Regions from separate parts of the Homo sapiens genome. Here regions 2, 3 and 4 are each linked to region 1. Evidence: promoter capture Hi-C in 16 types of primary human blood cells and fetal thymus (Javierre and others, 2016). All regions are on one chromosome and are shown on one strand. Each heading gives the region's core, a stretch centred on a gene start or on the middle of the fragment in contact. The rest is flanking DNA. Distances are from core to core; before and after follow the strand shown.

Region 1 (2,889 bases), core at 289-2,788:
TTTAAAGTTAAATGGATTTGAAAAAAGTTCTAAGTCCTTTTTAATGAACCTGAGGTCCTTAAAATGTCTCTCAAATTCTTTTTGGAGACGACAGATCACCATTTGATACCTATCAGGATCAAATATTTTTTCATCTTCCTTATTTTGCTGTTTTAGCTCATCAACAACTTCTCTGAGGGCAGGAAAGTCTGTTAGATTTTTTTCCTCAATATGTCTTTGAAATAAATTCAGCTTAACTTCGAAAGTACAAATATGGTCAAAGGCAGCAGCAGCAAAGACTTTACTAACTCGTAATTCTTCACTGAGTTCTCGAAGGTGTTCCATAATGTCCACCAAGAAGCCAAAGTCACAAAGCCATTGTTTGTCTGAGAAGTGGACTGTTGTTGCCCCTACTGAAACCAAGAACGCTTCCATTTCTTTTCTTAGAGAGAATATTAGTTTTAAAGTTTTCCCTCTCCTAAGCCAATTGTTCAGACATCGTCCATTAACCCTTTCACCATGCTCTGATTCAGATTCCGTTAGTAAAGTCTGAAATTCAGGTCGCCTAACGCCTCTGGTCTTAATCAAAACTATCCATTCGGATATGGTATTTATGATCTGATTAACATCTACATCATAGGAGCTCAACAGTTCCAAGTGAAGAAATCCTGAATAATGAATGACATTCCAACAGTTGGGGCTTACGGCCTTTTCTCTCATGTATGAGACGAGTCCTGAGTTCTCACCAATCATCCTCAAAGTATGGGTCGTGGTCAGTCCAACCATTCTCTGCAAGCTAAGCCCTGCTGTCTGCAGGGACTCTAGGATTGCCGACATGAGCGCACCAACACTGAAATGATGAGTCAGGTTGATTATGGTCAGAAGATCTTCTTGCACCTCCAACTCAGGGCCTACACCGCGGATAAAGACCAGGAGGTAGTTCTCATAGGCCACAAAAGCCTGGTCGTCCAAGGCAAGAGAATAGGCTTTAAAGTCCCTGGCTCGGTTAAAAAGCTGGTTGCGTAGATTCCTGTCAATGCTCAGGATCCTCTGCCTTGTGATATCTGGAGATAAGTCAACGCCTTGCAGGACGCTTACATGCTCGGGCAGTACCTCTCTCAGCAACACCTCCATGCACTGGTATACAAAGTCCCCCTCACCCCAGCCGCGACCCTTCAAGGCCAAGAGGCGGCAGAGCCCGAGGCCTGCACGAGCAGCTCTCTCTTCAGGAGTGAAGGAGGCCACGGGCAAGTCGCCCTGACGCAGACGCTCCACCAGGGCCGCGCGCTCGCCGTCCGCCACATACCGCTCGTAGTATTCGTGCTCAGCCTCGTAGTGGCGCCTGACGTCGCGTTCGCGGGTAGCTACGATGAGGCGGCGACAGACCAGGCACAGGGCCCCATCGCCCTCCGGAGGCTCCACCACCAAATAACGCTGGGTCCACTCGGGCCGGAAAACTAGAGCCTCGTCGACTTCCATCTTGCTTCTTTTGGGCGTCATCCACATTCTGCGGGAGGCCACAAGAGCAGGGCCAACGTTAGAAAGGCCGCAAGGGGAGAGGAGGAGCCTGAGAAGCGCCAAGCACCTCCTCCGCTCTGCGCCAGATCACCTCAGCAGAGGCACACAAGCCCGGTTCCGGCATCTCTGCTCCTATTGGCTGGATATTTCGTATTCCCCGAGCTCCTAAAAACGAACCAATAGGAAGAGCGGACAGCGATCTCTAACGCGCAAGCGCATATCCTTCTAGGTAGCGGGCAGTAGCCGCTTCAGGGAGGGACGAAGAGACCCAGCAACCCACAGAGTTGAGAAATTTGACTGGCATTCAAGCTGTCCAATCAATAGCTGCCGCTGAAGGGTGGGGCTGGATGGCGTAAGCTACAGCTGAAGGAAGAACGTGAGCACGAGGCACTGAGGTGATTGGCTGAAGGCACTTCCGTTGAGCATCTAGACGTTTCCTTGGCTCTTCTGGCGCCAAAATGTCGTTCGTGGCAGGGGTTATTCGGCGGCTGGACGAGACAGTGGTGAACCGCATCGCGGCGGGGGAAGTTATCCAGCGGCCAGCTAATGCTATCAAAGAGATGATTGAGAACTGGTACGGAGGGAGTCGAGCCGGGCTCACTTAAGGGCTACGACTTAACGGGCCGCGTCACTCAATGGCGCGGACACGCCTCTTTGCCCGGGCAGAGGCATGTACAGCGCATGCCCACAACGGCGGAGGCCGCCGGGTTCCCTGACGTGCCAGTCAGGCCTTCTCCTTTTCCGCAGACCGTGTGTTTCTTTACCGCTCTCCCCCGAGACCTTTTAAGGGTTGTTTGGAGTGTAAGTGGAGGAATATACGTAGTGTTGTCTTAATGGTACCGTTAACTAAGTAAGGAAGCCACTTAATTTAAAATTATGTATGCAGAACATGCGAAGTTAAAAGATGTATAAAAGCTTAAGATGGGGAGAAAAACCTTTTTTCAGAGGGTACTGTGTTACTGTTTTCTTGCTTTTCATTCATTCCAGAAATCATCTGTTCACATCCAAAGGCACAATTCATTTTGAGTTTCTTTCAAAACAAATCGTTTGTAGTTTTAGGACAGGCTGATGCACTTTGGGCTTGACTTCTGATTACCCTATTGTTAAATTAGTGACCCCTCTTAGTGTTTTCCTGTCCTTTATTTCGGAGGACGCACTTCGAAGATACCAGATTTTATGGGTCATCCTTGGATTTTGAAGCTTATAACTGTGACAAAAAATGTGAAGGGAAGAGATTTGAAACATGTGGAAGGAAAAGTGAGTGCAGACTATAAACTTCCAAAAAGACAAGCCCAAAATACACCTAAACGTTATGTCAGATTATTTTGTTAAAATCAGTTGTTAGTGACGTCCGTACGTTAATAGAAAAAAGAATGCTTCAGTTTGGAGTGG
Region 2 (2,889 bases), core at 284-2,783, about 32 Mb after region 1:
TGATAATTAAGTAAAATCCAGAGTGGCTCTCAAAATACAGTTCCTGATCAACATCACTTGGGAAGTTTTTTTTAACACAAATTTTCACCCCTCACCGCCCCCACCACGCTCCCCACCGCCCCCCCGCCACCCCACCCTTCAGCCTTCTGCAAAGCCTGGGGTGATTCTCCACTGGTAAAGTTTGAGGGCCACTGAAATGGAGTACATAAAGCCTGATGGGTACTCAGTAAATGTAGCTGCTGTTACTACACTGTGATATTTAACCTCCTCTTGTCCTAGTTTTCAGTGAACCTTAAGGAAAGCTTGTCCTTTATGGTCCCCCAATTAGGTTCAGTTCAATAGCATTCACTGAGCTGAAAGTCAATGCCAGGCAGTGAGCGTGGGAATAGAGTTCACAGTCCCTATCAAGAGATACCAGCCTCCTTCTGCATCACATGTCTCAGCGTCAACTATGAAACTACTTTTTCTTGCCCAGACAACTCCACAGATGGTTTCACTGAGGATTTAACCTCAGTGCTTATCAAAATGGGCTCCTGTAGCCTGAACCCCCAACAATACTGGATACCCTTTGATTAGTGGTAGTGAGCATTGCAACCCTCTCAGATAGTGAAAAGCAGCAGTCACCTTAAAGGCCACCTAGTCCAGTCTCACCCATTTCACAGGGGAGGAAACTGAGGCCTAGGGATAGAGTACAGCTAGCCGATGAAGAAGTCTGCAAAGGTATCTGGCCCTGCATCTGCTTGCTTTGAGACTAACAGCCTGACTCACCATGGTGGTATTTTGATAAACGACACCAGGCACTCTCACTGGCTTAGATTGATTGACGGATTAGAAATAGCCATCTGCCCTTGCCAGGAATGAAAGCAACAGAGACATGCAAGCAAAACCTTCAACAGATTTATTTTACTTCAAATGGAACATATCATAAACAATTAGACTATCTGCTATGGTTTTTAAACAGACAGATAGTCTGAATGGTCCTATCTAGACACACCAGTCCCATTATAAAAGCCCCATCAAGCAGGGCTCGGCTTCCCACACCTGTAGTCCCGGCTACTTGGGAGGCTGAGGTGGGAGGACTGTTTGAGCCCAGGAGTTTAAAACCAGCCTGGGCAACATAGTGAGACCCTGTCTCTAAAAATAATAATAAATTAAAGCTCCAGAAAGACCTCTACAGTGAATCTGACCCCTCCCTCCCCGGAATGAACACTAACAAAGAGCTGCTACTAATAGCATTTCAAACAGTTACTGGAAAAAAGTAATGACTCATTACATGTTCATTTTTATTTAAAATAATTTAACAAAGGTAGAAATATTTAGAGAAAAAAAAAATCTCCCATACCCCAAAGAGAGAGACAGGGTTAACATTTTGGGAGGGAGACAGAAGGGAATCATGCTATAAACAGCTTTCTCTGTCTTTTCAGAATTTATTTATTTATGTTTAAACCTCTAAAGAGGTTTAATTCTTTCTTGGGTATCAATTGCCTGTGATCAAGGAGTAATCATATTGTTACTAATACACTCTTGACAGCTTTTGGTCATGCAGTTCTGAGCAGTTGGAAGATAAAGTTCTTAGTTACAGCTTCTAATACTCATAAATCTCACCAACAGTGTGGGGCCCCACTGGAGTTCCCACTCTCATCTTGACCAAGATGATTTACTCAGCTTGCCCACAGTGCTGCCTCTTGACATTCTGAAGCCCTGGGGAATTCCTCCACACCCTCTGACTTCCTGTAACTGAGCACTGAGGCTCAGTGCATCTCTATTTAGCACTCCTCTTACTGTCTCATATTTAACTAGTGTTTCCACTGGATTGCAGAAGTTTTGAAGGCAGAGCAGGATTACATTTTTCTCCTCTTTAAAAAAAAAAAGAAAAGAAAAGAAAAAAAACCCACAGTGCTTTCACAGAGCCTCAAAAGAACTCGAAATACTTGCTGGCATTGTACTGAATATTCTCAACCTTTTCCCCCTACCCAGATACATCCACAACAATAAAGTTGGAGCAAGGTAGAGAAAAGTTAGTAGATGTTTATAATGAAAGCATAGAAAACAAATCAGATTAAAGCACTATTAATAGCAAACAAGAATCGTGGGCTATCCTATTGCTAATAACAATAATAGTAACATATAACTGTGAACCTTTATTATACACTAAGCATTTCCTATACATTCCTTCACTTAGCCTCGTCTATATGGCAGATGTTCCATTATCCCCACTTTACACATGAAGACACCGAGGCTGGGAGAGATTAAGTAGTTTCTCCAAAGTCACCTGCCAGAGAGGAAGGAGCTGCGACTCTAATTTTGCTTTCTCTGACTTCACACCATCCCATTTTTCCAGAATCAAGAAAACATGAGCACTCAGGAATATTTTCACATTTTAAACTTTATTCAAAAAGCAGCACATAAGATATATCTTAGCACTAATTCCATGCAATCACCAAATTTTCCTAAACAACAGTAGTAGTAGTAATTTCTTAGAGTCGCTGTAAGCTCCTTAACTGTCTTCTGAATTAATAAGGAAAATTAAATTATGTTTTCTAGACTTTGCATTAGTATATTTCATTACTTTCCAAGTTTTCAAAAATTGGTGATCTGAGTAGAGTGAATTCACCTTGTCTAAGCCACTTAGGGGCTTAGAGACTCTGTTATCTTAGAAATCTTCACCTTAGAATTCTACCTATTACATTATACAATTAAACAAACTACTTTTTTTCTCATGCATTGTACCAATCAGCCCCTTAACTGAAAAAAGATGACCCTTGGAAGCTTAGAAGAGAATTGACAACGAATACTTCTTTTGCCAGGTCTTTGGGCTGGGATACAAAACATCACGTTATCTATGAATATATTGTGGTCCCTCAGTGAAAGCTGTCACCAAATATTGCA
Region 3 (2,889 bases), core at 156-2,655, about 32 Mb after region 1:
AAGTATTCAGATGAATTACCCATAGAATGGCAAGGTCATGATGACAGACAATATTGCCATTTGCATATTTCCTTTATTATTATTCTAAGAACTAAGCACATATAAAAAATAAAACATCACCTGAGACAGAAAAGATGTCTGTAGTCCTGCCATATCAACACCACTTATTGAACTTGAGCGTGACATGGTGGGAGTGCTAGAAACAGAAAATGGCTTGCGTTCCTTAGGGAGTAAAAAAAATTCTGTTCATATTAAAGAGCAAAGAGATAAGCAGAGAAAGCAAGAACATTTCCTAGGGTTAATGAGAACAAAGATTCAGTCTTTTAAAAAAGCCACACTACAAAGGAATTCAATACAATCAAAAGAAGAAAAAAAACTTTTTTAAGATTCATTCTAATTTCCCCATAAAATGGCTTCTTAAGTCAAAAATACAATATTTGGCCAGGCATGGTGGCTTATGCCTGTAATCCCAGCACTTTGGGAGGCCAAGGAGGGTGGATCACCTGAGGTTGGGAGATCAAGACCAACTTGACTAACATGGAAAAACCTCGTCTCTACTAAAAATACAAAATTAGCTGGGCGTGGTGGCGCATGCCTGTAATCCCAGCTACTCGGGAGGCTGAGGCAGAATCGCTTGAACCTGGGAGGTGAGGTTGCGGTGAGCCGAGATAGCGGTGGAGGTGGCGGTGAGCTGAGATAGCACCACTACACTCCAGCCTGGGCAATAAGAGTAAAACTCAGTCTCCAAAACAAACAAACAAAAAAAAAGTACAATATTTACTAATTAAAACTGTAGCTAGACTTGGTTAGATCATCACAGAACCCATTTATTACAACAATGTAATTTGTTGGGTTTTTATAATAGAATAAGAATGTTTCTGTTAAGCTTCATATTATACAATATACTATCAATTAAACCTATTTCTGTAACATAAAATTACTAATGAGTGTTACAAATCATAAAATTTCTGGCTTATCCATTTTATTTTTAATGTATTCTTAAAATTCCAAATAAATTCAATAGGTAATTTAAATTTACCTATCGGTAGTTTAAATATATTATGCTAACTCCAAGTACACGGTAATTCTTTCAATACAGAAAACTCATTTTTATTTATTTATTTATTTTTATTTTTTTGAGAAAGAGTCTCGATCTGTTGCCCAGGCTGGAATGCAGTGATGCGATCTCGGCTCACTGCAGCCTCCGCCTCCCGGGTTCAAGCAATTCTCCCACCTCTGCCTCCCGAGTAGCTGGGATTACAGGCACATGCCACCATGCCCGGCTAATTTTTGTATTTTTAGTAGAGATGGGGTTTTGCCATGTTGGCCAGGCTGGTCTTGAACTCTTAGCCTCAAGTGATCCACCTACCTCAGCCTCTCAAAGTGCTGGGATTACAGATGTGAGTCCCCATGCTCAGCCTCAGAAAACTCATTTCAGAAAAATTACCCTCATTAACCAGAAAGAAAACAAGCCAGACTTACTCCTTAAGTGCCTATAGACCAAATGATGTGCACTGGTTTCAGTGACAGACAATTAAATTCATTTTTAAAAAGGGCAAGAGGTTTTATATTTCAAGTCCTAGAAATCATAGATCTCTTTGGATAAACTCAAAATTACTTTGGGTCCACTCTGAGCAGGACACTGATTATAATACTAGAATTCATCACTATGTTGATTTTAGACATTAAAAAAATGATACTTATAAAGCAGGGATGTCCAATCTTTTGGTTCCCTGGGCCTCATTTGAAGAACAAGAATTGTCTTGGGCCACACATAAAATATACTAACAATAGCTGATGAACTAAAAAAAAAAAAAAAAATCATGAAAAAAATCTCATGATGATTTAAGAAAGTTTGCAAATTTGTGTTGGGCTTCATTCAAAATCATCCTGGGCCACATGCCAACCAGGGCCACAGGTTGGACAAGCTTGTTATAAAGCATAGCTAAAATTAAAAAGCAATGATTAATCACAGCATCTACTAAATGGTTACACCACAAACAAACAAAAACAAAATTCAATACCTTTTCTTTTATTGTTTCTTGAGTAAAAATGGCTTTCTTCCTTTCTTGTTCAACTTTCATTCTTTCCATTTCTAACTGACTATTCAACAATGTCTAATAGAGAGAAATAAAGTTAGACAATTTCTGTGATAGTAATTCATGCCATGATAAGTCAATCTCAAAGTTAGAAGCATAAAGTATAAACTCATATTTGTTTTCCTACTAAAGACCAAGTTCCAAAAGCAGTGGCATCACCCATTTCATCTTGTTATCTCATTAATTTGCTGCCATCCCCAACCATTCTCTAATGTATGCCCTAAGAGCTGAGTGGTCACGAAGAGAAATACCTTTTCTTTCCTCGTCTCTTCAAGTGTTCTTACATATTCATCTTTTAGGTTTTCCAATTCAACCTGGTACCTATTAAACAAGGCAGAATTTAAAAAAACAGAAAATGAAAAAGATGCTAGTATAGACTATTAAAAACTCAGTACTTTATTAACTCCAGCTACATATTGAGAAATCATTTTTATTACCAGCTTGACATCAGTGATTTTCCAACAGTGTGTTCCAGATCCCATCTGAGTTTCACTCAGAAACCAAACCAAAAGTGAAAAAGCTCCACTTCTGTGCATTTTATTTATTGGTGCTCTGGGTTAAGATTTCATTTAAAAAGAGACTTTATAAAAATAATTTTGAGTACCATCATCCTATAATATGCTCAGATTCCACAAAGCTTATTAGGGAGTTCTATGAAAATGTTTCTAAAAGTTCAGATATTTTACTTTAGAAATCATTTTTACTTGACATTTTTTTAAAAAGTAAAATTTCCAAGGAAGAACAGAGGGTTAAAAAATACTAACCATTGCCTTAATATAATCTCAGATAG
Region 4 (2,889 bases), core at 277-2,776, about 27 Mb after region 1:
TAAACTGTCTTCGACTTGGAGGTGGGGTTTCGTCGGAGACCCTCCCCTGTCTTTCTAGGCATTTGTCTGCCTCTATCAAAACCATCTTGGATGCTTTAAGACCCTCCAAGCAGGGAATTGCTACACTGGCTGACACACCCATAGCTGATTTTTAGCTTAGCAACTTCCAAAATGGAAAGATGAAATCGAAAACAATCTGGATTTCCCTTAAACATATTCTGGATCCCACCCTGAATATACCAAAAAACTGTCATCGATGACAAATGTTCAGCCTATGCAGACTTGTACACTAACAACCTGATTTTGCCCAGCACTTAGGGAAGATGGGCTTCTTACTGATTTATGCCCCAGCCCTCACCTTTATCCCTGCCCCTCCATCATGTATTATGACTTGCTAATAATGCCATTTCAGAGCAGGCAAGTTGCCTTGTGCTTTCACCCAGGTGCTGGAGTCAGCCTGCCTGGGATTGCACCCATCTTTGCCTCTTAAGTAACCATGTGATGTTGGACAACTGACTTGAGTCCTTTAAAAGCCTTGGCTTCCTCATCTGGAAAGTGAGGTTAATAATAGTATCTACTTTGTTAGAAAGATGGTCAGGATTGAATGAGATAATCCATGTAAATCCCGTAGCATGGTGCCTGGCATGTGGTTTCTACACAGTACACAGTAGCAGCTGTTGTTGATGTTGTTGTTCTTGAAGGTGAGATTTCTCATCAGCCAGTTGTTTGGATTATAAAAGATTAGTAAAATGTTTAATAAGTTATAAGAAAAGAGCCCTGAATAAAGGGTATGGGAAGGGTTGCAGCTTGTGAGTTACCATGAGATGGTGGAAGGAGGTTATCTGAAATTGAATGAAAAATTGTAGCATCAGATGTGTTTGGGTGTGGTTAATAATACACGTGGTGGTGAACTGAGGTAGATGGTAGAAGTTTGAGGGTGTACATTTTGAATCTTCCCACATGGCTCATTTCAGCCAGTTACAGTTTTCTGTGTTCACCTAGTATTTCTTACAGACAAAAATCATGAAAAAGTAAATGCAAAATTTCAACATGTTCGAATTGTTTCTTAGTATATCGGTGGCTTTGGAATGCATTTTCATTCTCAAAACAAGCTTTATAGCAGAACTGAAGATATTTAATTCAGGTTCTGTGGGGGTTTCTTAGTAGTTAGCCACTTGCATGATACCCGTTGAGAATGGGACAAATTGATACTATGCTCAGGAATGATAGTATGCCTTGCTTTATTTTGGCATGTGTAAAATTGAAACCAGAACACCAAATTTTTCTTCTTTAGAAGTATGTATTTGATAACCAAGTAAACTGTATTCATTATAGAAAAACAATACACAAATGTTTTAAAAAATAGAGCCATAATCCTGGGAATAACCACTTTTTAAAAAGCTTGACATATATCCTTCTAGATTATTTTCGAGTATGAATGTTAGCATTTGGAGTTACATTTTGTTTTGACTGCTTTTTAGATTTGTGCCCTAATTTTGACAGTTGCTCACTGTAAATTATTTTTAGTTGTTTTCAAAGCAATATTTATGATATAAAAAGATCTAATTATTTGCTTTGAACTCCTTTTTGGTGTGTACCTGGATGTTAATACTTATAACTTTAAAAAAATCTCAGCGTGAATTCAGAATTATAAGCTTAGTATTGGTTGCATTCTATTTTGGAAGACCTATAGAGAGCTGTCCACCCTCCTACACCACTACTAATATCCTGTCCTTGCCATGTGACGTACTGAAGCCACAAGGGGAAAGAGCCCCATGAAGCTCTGTCTCCCTCTCTTCTCCCCAGCACAACACACACATACACACTTAGGCATGTTTGTCTTTCTTTGTCTCTGCTCTTTTCTTGTGTCTGTACTTGTCTGTCAGTCGGCCTGTCTCTCCCTTACTGGAGCCATTCATCATGCCCTCCTCATTCAGGGACAGAGTGTGCTTTCTCTGGGCTGGTGCCAGATCCTGGAGAGAGGAGCGCTTTGAAAACTCAACTTGGACTCCTCAGCAGACCACATTGCAGTTGTGCTCAGCATCTGGCCACCACTTTGTCCACTTAATATAGGGTCCCTAACCCCACCTATAATTTGCCCACTTCTCTTCTGATCTGGGAGCAAACACTTTTTTAGAGCTAGATGCCCAGTTTAAAATCCTGTGAAAAATAAGAGCTCAGTGAAAGGATAAGGGGAGTCCAACTCAACTACAATAAATTTGGTTTTTCCTTCTTGCTTTCTTGTGGGGGGAAAGCCAGATGCTGTCCTTTTCACAGAGTAAGTTACCAGTCCGTGATAATTCAGTAGCATGACAAGAATTTGAGCTGGCACTTTTCAGCCAGAATCTCAGTTACTTACACACACTACACACACACAATCTGTTTCAAGTTTTAATGAATGAAAAATTCACATGATAGATTGTCATTCTTAGTTTTTAAATAGTTTTTATTGTTATTGAAGTAGAAAATAGACTTTTTTGGGATATTATCGATACATCAGCAGACTTTTAACTTAAGAAGCTTTGAACCTTGATTTTTCTAGTGGAATTCCATATTAAGAGTTAATAGGCAAGAAAAGAAGATTTTAACCAAAGAAAACGGGGAGGATGGACAGTGATGGGAATGGAAAATTGAAAGGACAAGCTTAAAGTTACAGTCAGTTCTGCTATAGCACAACATGCATTCCTAAAAAATTACTGCACAATGCAAAATTACGCAACAAAAACCACATGAGGCTTATTGGGAAAACAGGGTTATGGCACAACACTCAAAGACCTCATCAGTGACACACACAGAAAAACATAGGAACCTAATGAAAAGGGTAGCACAGTCTTACAAATGTTAAATGGTAAAAAAATACATAAATACTAGAATAAACATGGCAGTTAC

Evidence for each region. Contacts are between HindIII fragments. The CHiCAGO score rates a contact against its expected background, and 5 or more counts as called.
Region 2: a contact is called between a fragment that was not itself captured here and the fragment with the promoter of EPM2AIP1 in region 1, in 4 of 17 cell types (total CD4 T cells, naive CD4 T cells, activated CD4 T cells and 1 more). The highest score is 8.1, in total CD4 T cells.
Region 3: a fragment that was not itself captured here is called in contact with the fragment with the promoter of EPM2AIP1 in region 1 in 1 of 17 cell types (total CD8 T cells); the score reaches 5.8 in total CD8 T cells.
Region 4: a fragment that was not itself captured here is called in contact with the fragment with the promoter of EPM2AIP1 in region 1 in 1 of 17 cell types (total CD8 T cells); the score reaches 5.4 in total CD8 T cells.

Annotation. Positions count from the first base shown.
Region 1 is chr3:36,991,593-36,994,481 of GRCh38, forward strand. It overlaps EPM2AIP1 (EPM2A interacting protein 1), which reads right to left and starts at 1,539. Exons shown (of 1, transcript NM_014805.4): 1 at 1-1,539. The coding sequence starts at 1,485. It overlaps MLH1 (mutL homolog 1), which reads left to right and starts at 1,926. Exons shown (of 19, transcript NM_000249.4): 1 at 1,926-2,071. The coding sequence starts at 1,956. RefSeq lists enhancers at 710-789, 820-1,139, 1,260-1,609, 1,980-2,199, 2,116-2,627. The HindIII fragment of the contact is 4,668 bases long and covers 1-2,410 here.
Region 2 is chr3:69,081,324-69,084,212 of GRCh38, forward strand. No RefSeq gene overlaps it. Among named protein-coding and RNA genes, the nearest start is that of ARL6IP5, 2.2 kb to the right of the region's middle. RefSeq lists enhancers at 754-813, 1,618-1,777. The HindIII fragment of the contact is 2,467 bases long and covers 301-2,767 here.
Region 3 is chr3:69,025,876-69,028,764 of GRCh38, forward strand. It overlaps TMF1 (TATA element modulatory factor 1), which reads right to left. Exons shown (of 17, transcript NM_007114.3): 12 at 2,351-2,420; 13 at 2,025-2,117; 14 at 121-222. Among named protein-coding and RNA genes, the nearest start is that of EOGT, 14 kb to the left of the region's middle. The HindIII fragment of the contact is 1,042 bases long and covers 885-1,926 here.
Region 4 is chr3:63,974,050-63,976,938 of GRCh38, forward strand. All of the region lies in intron 5 of ATXN7 (ataxin 7), which reads left to right. Among named protein-coding and RNA genes, the nearest start is that of PSMD6-AS2, 29 kb to the right of the region's middle. The HindIII fragment of the contact is 254 bases long and covers 1,400-1,653 here.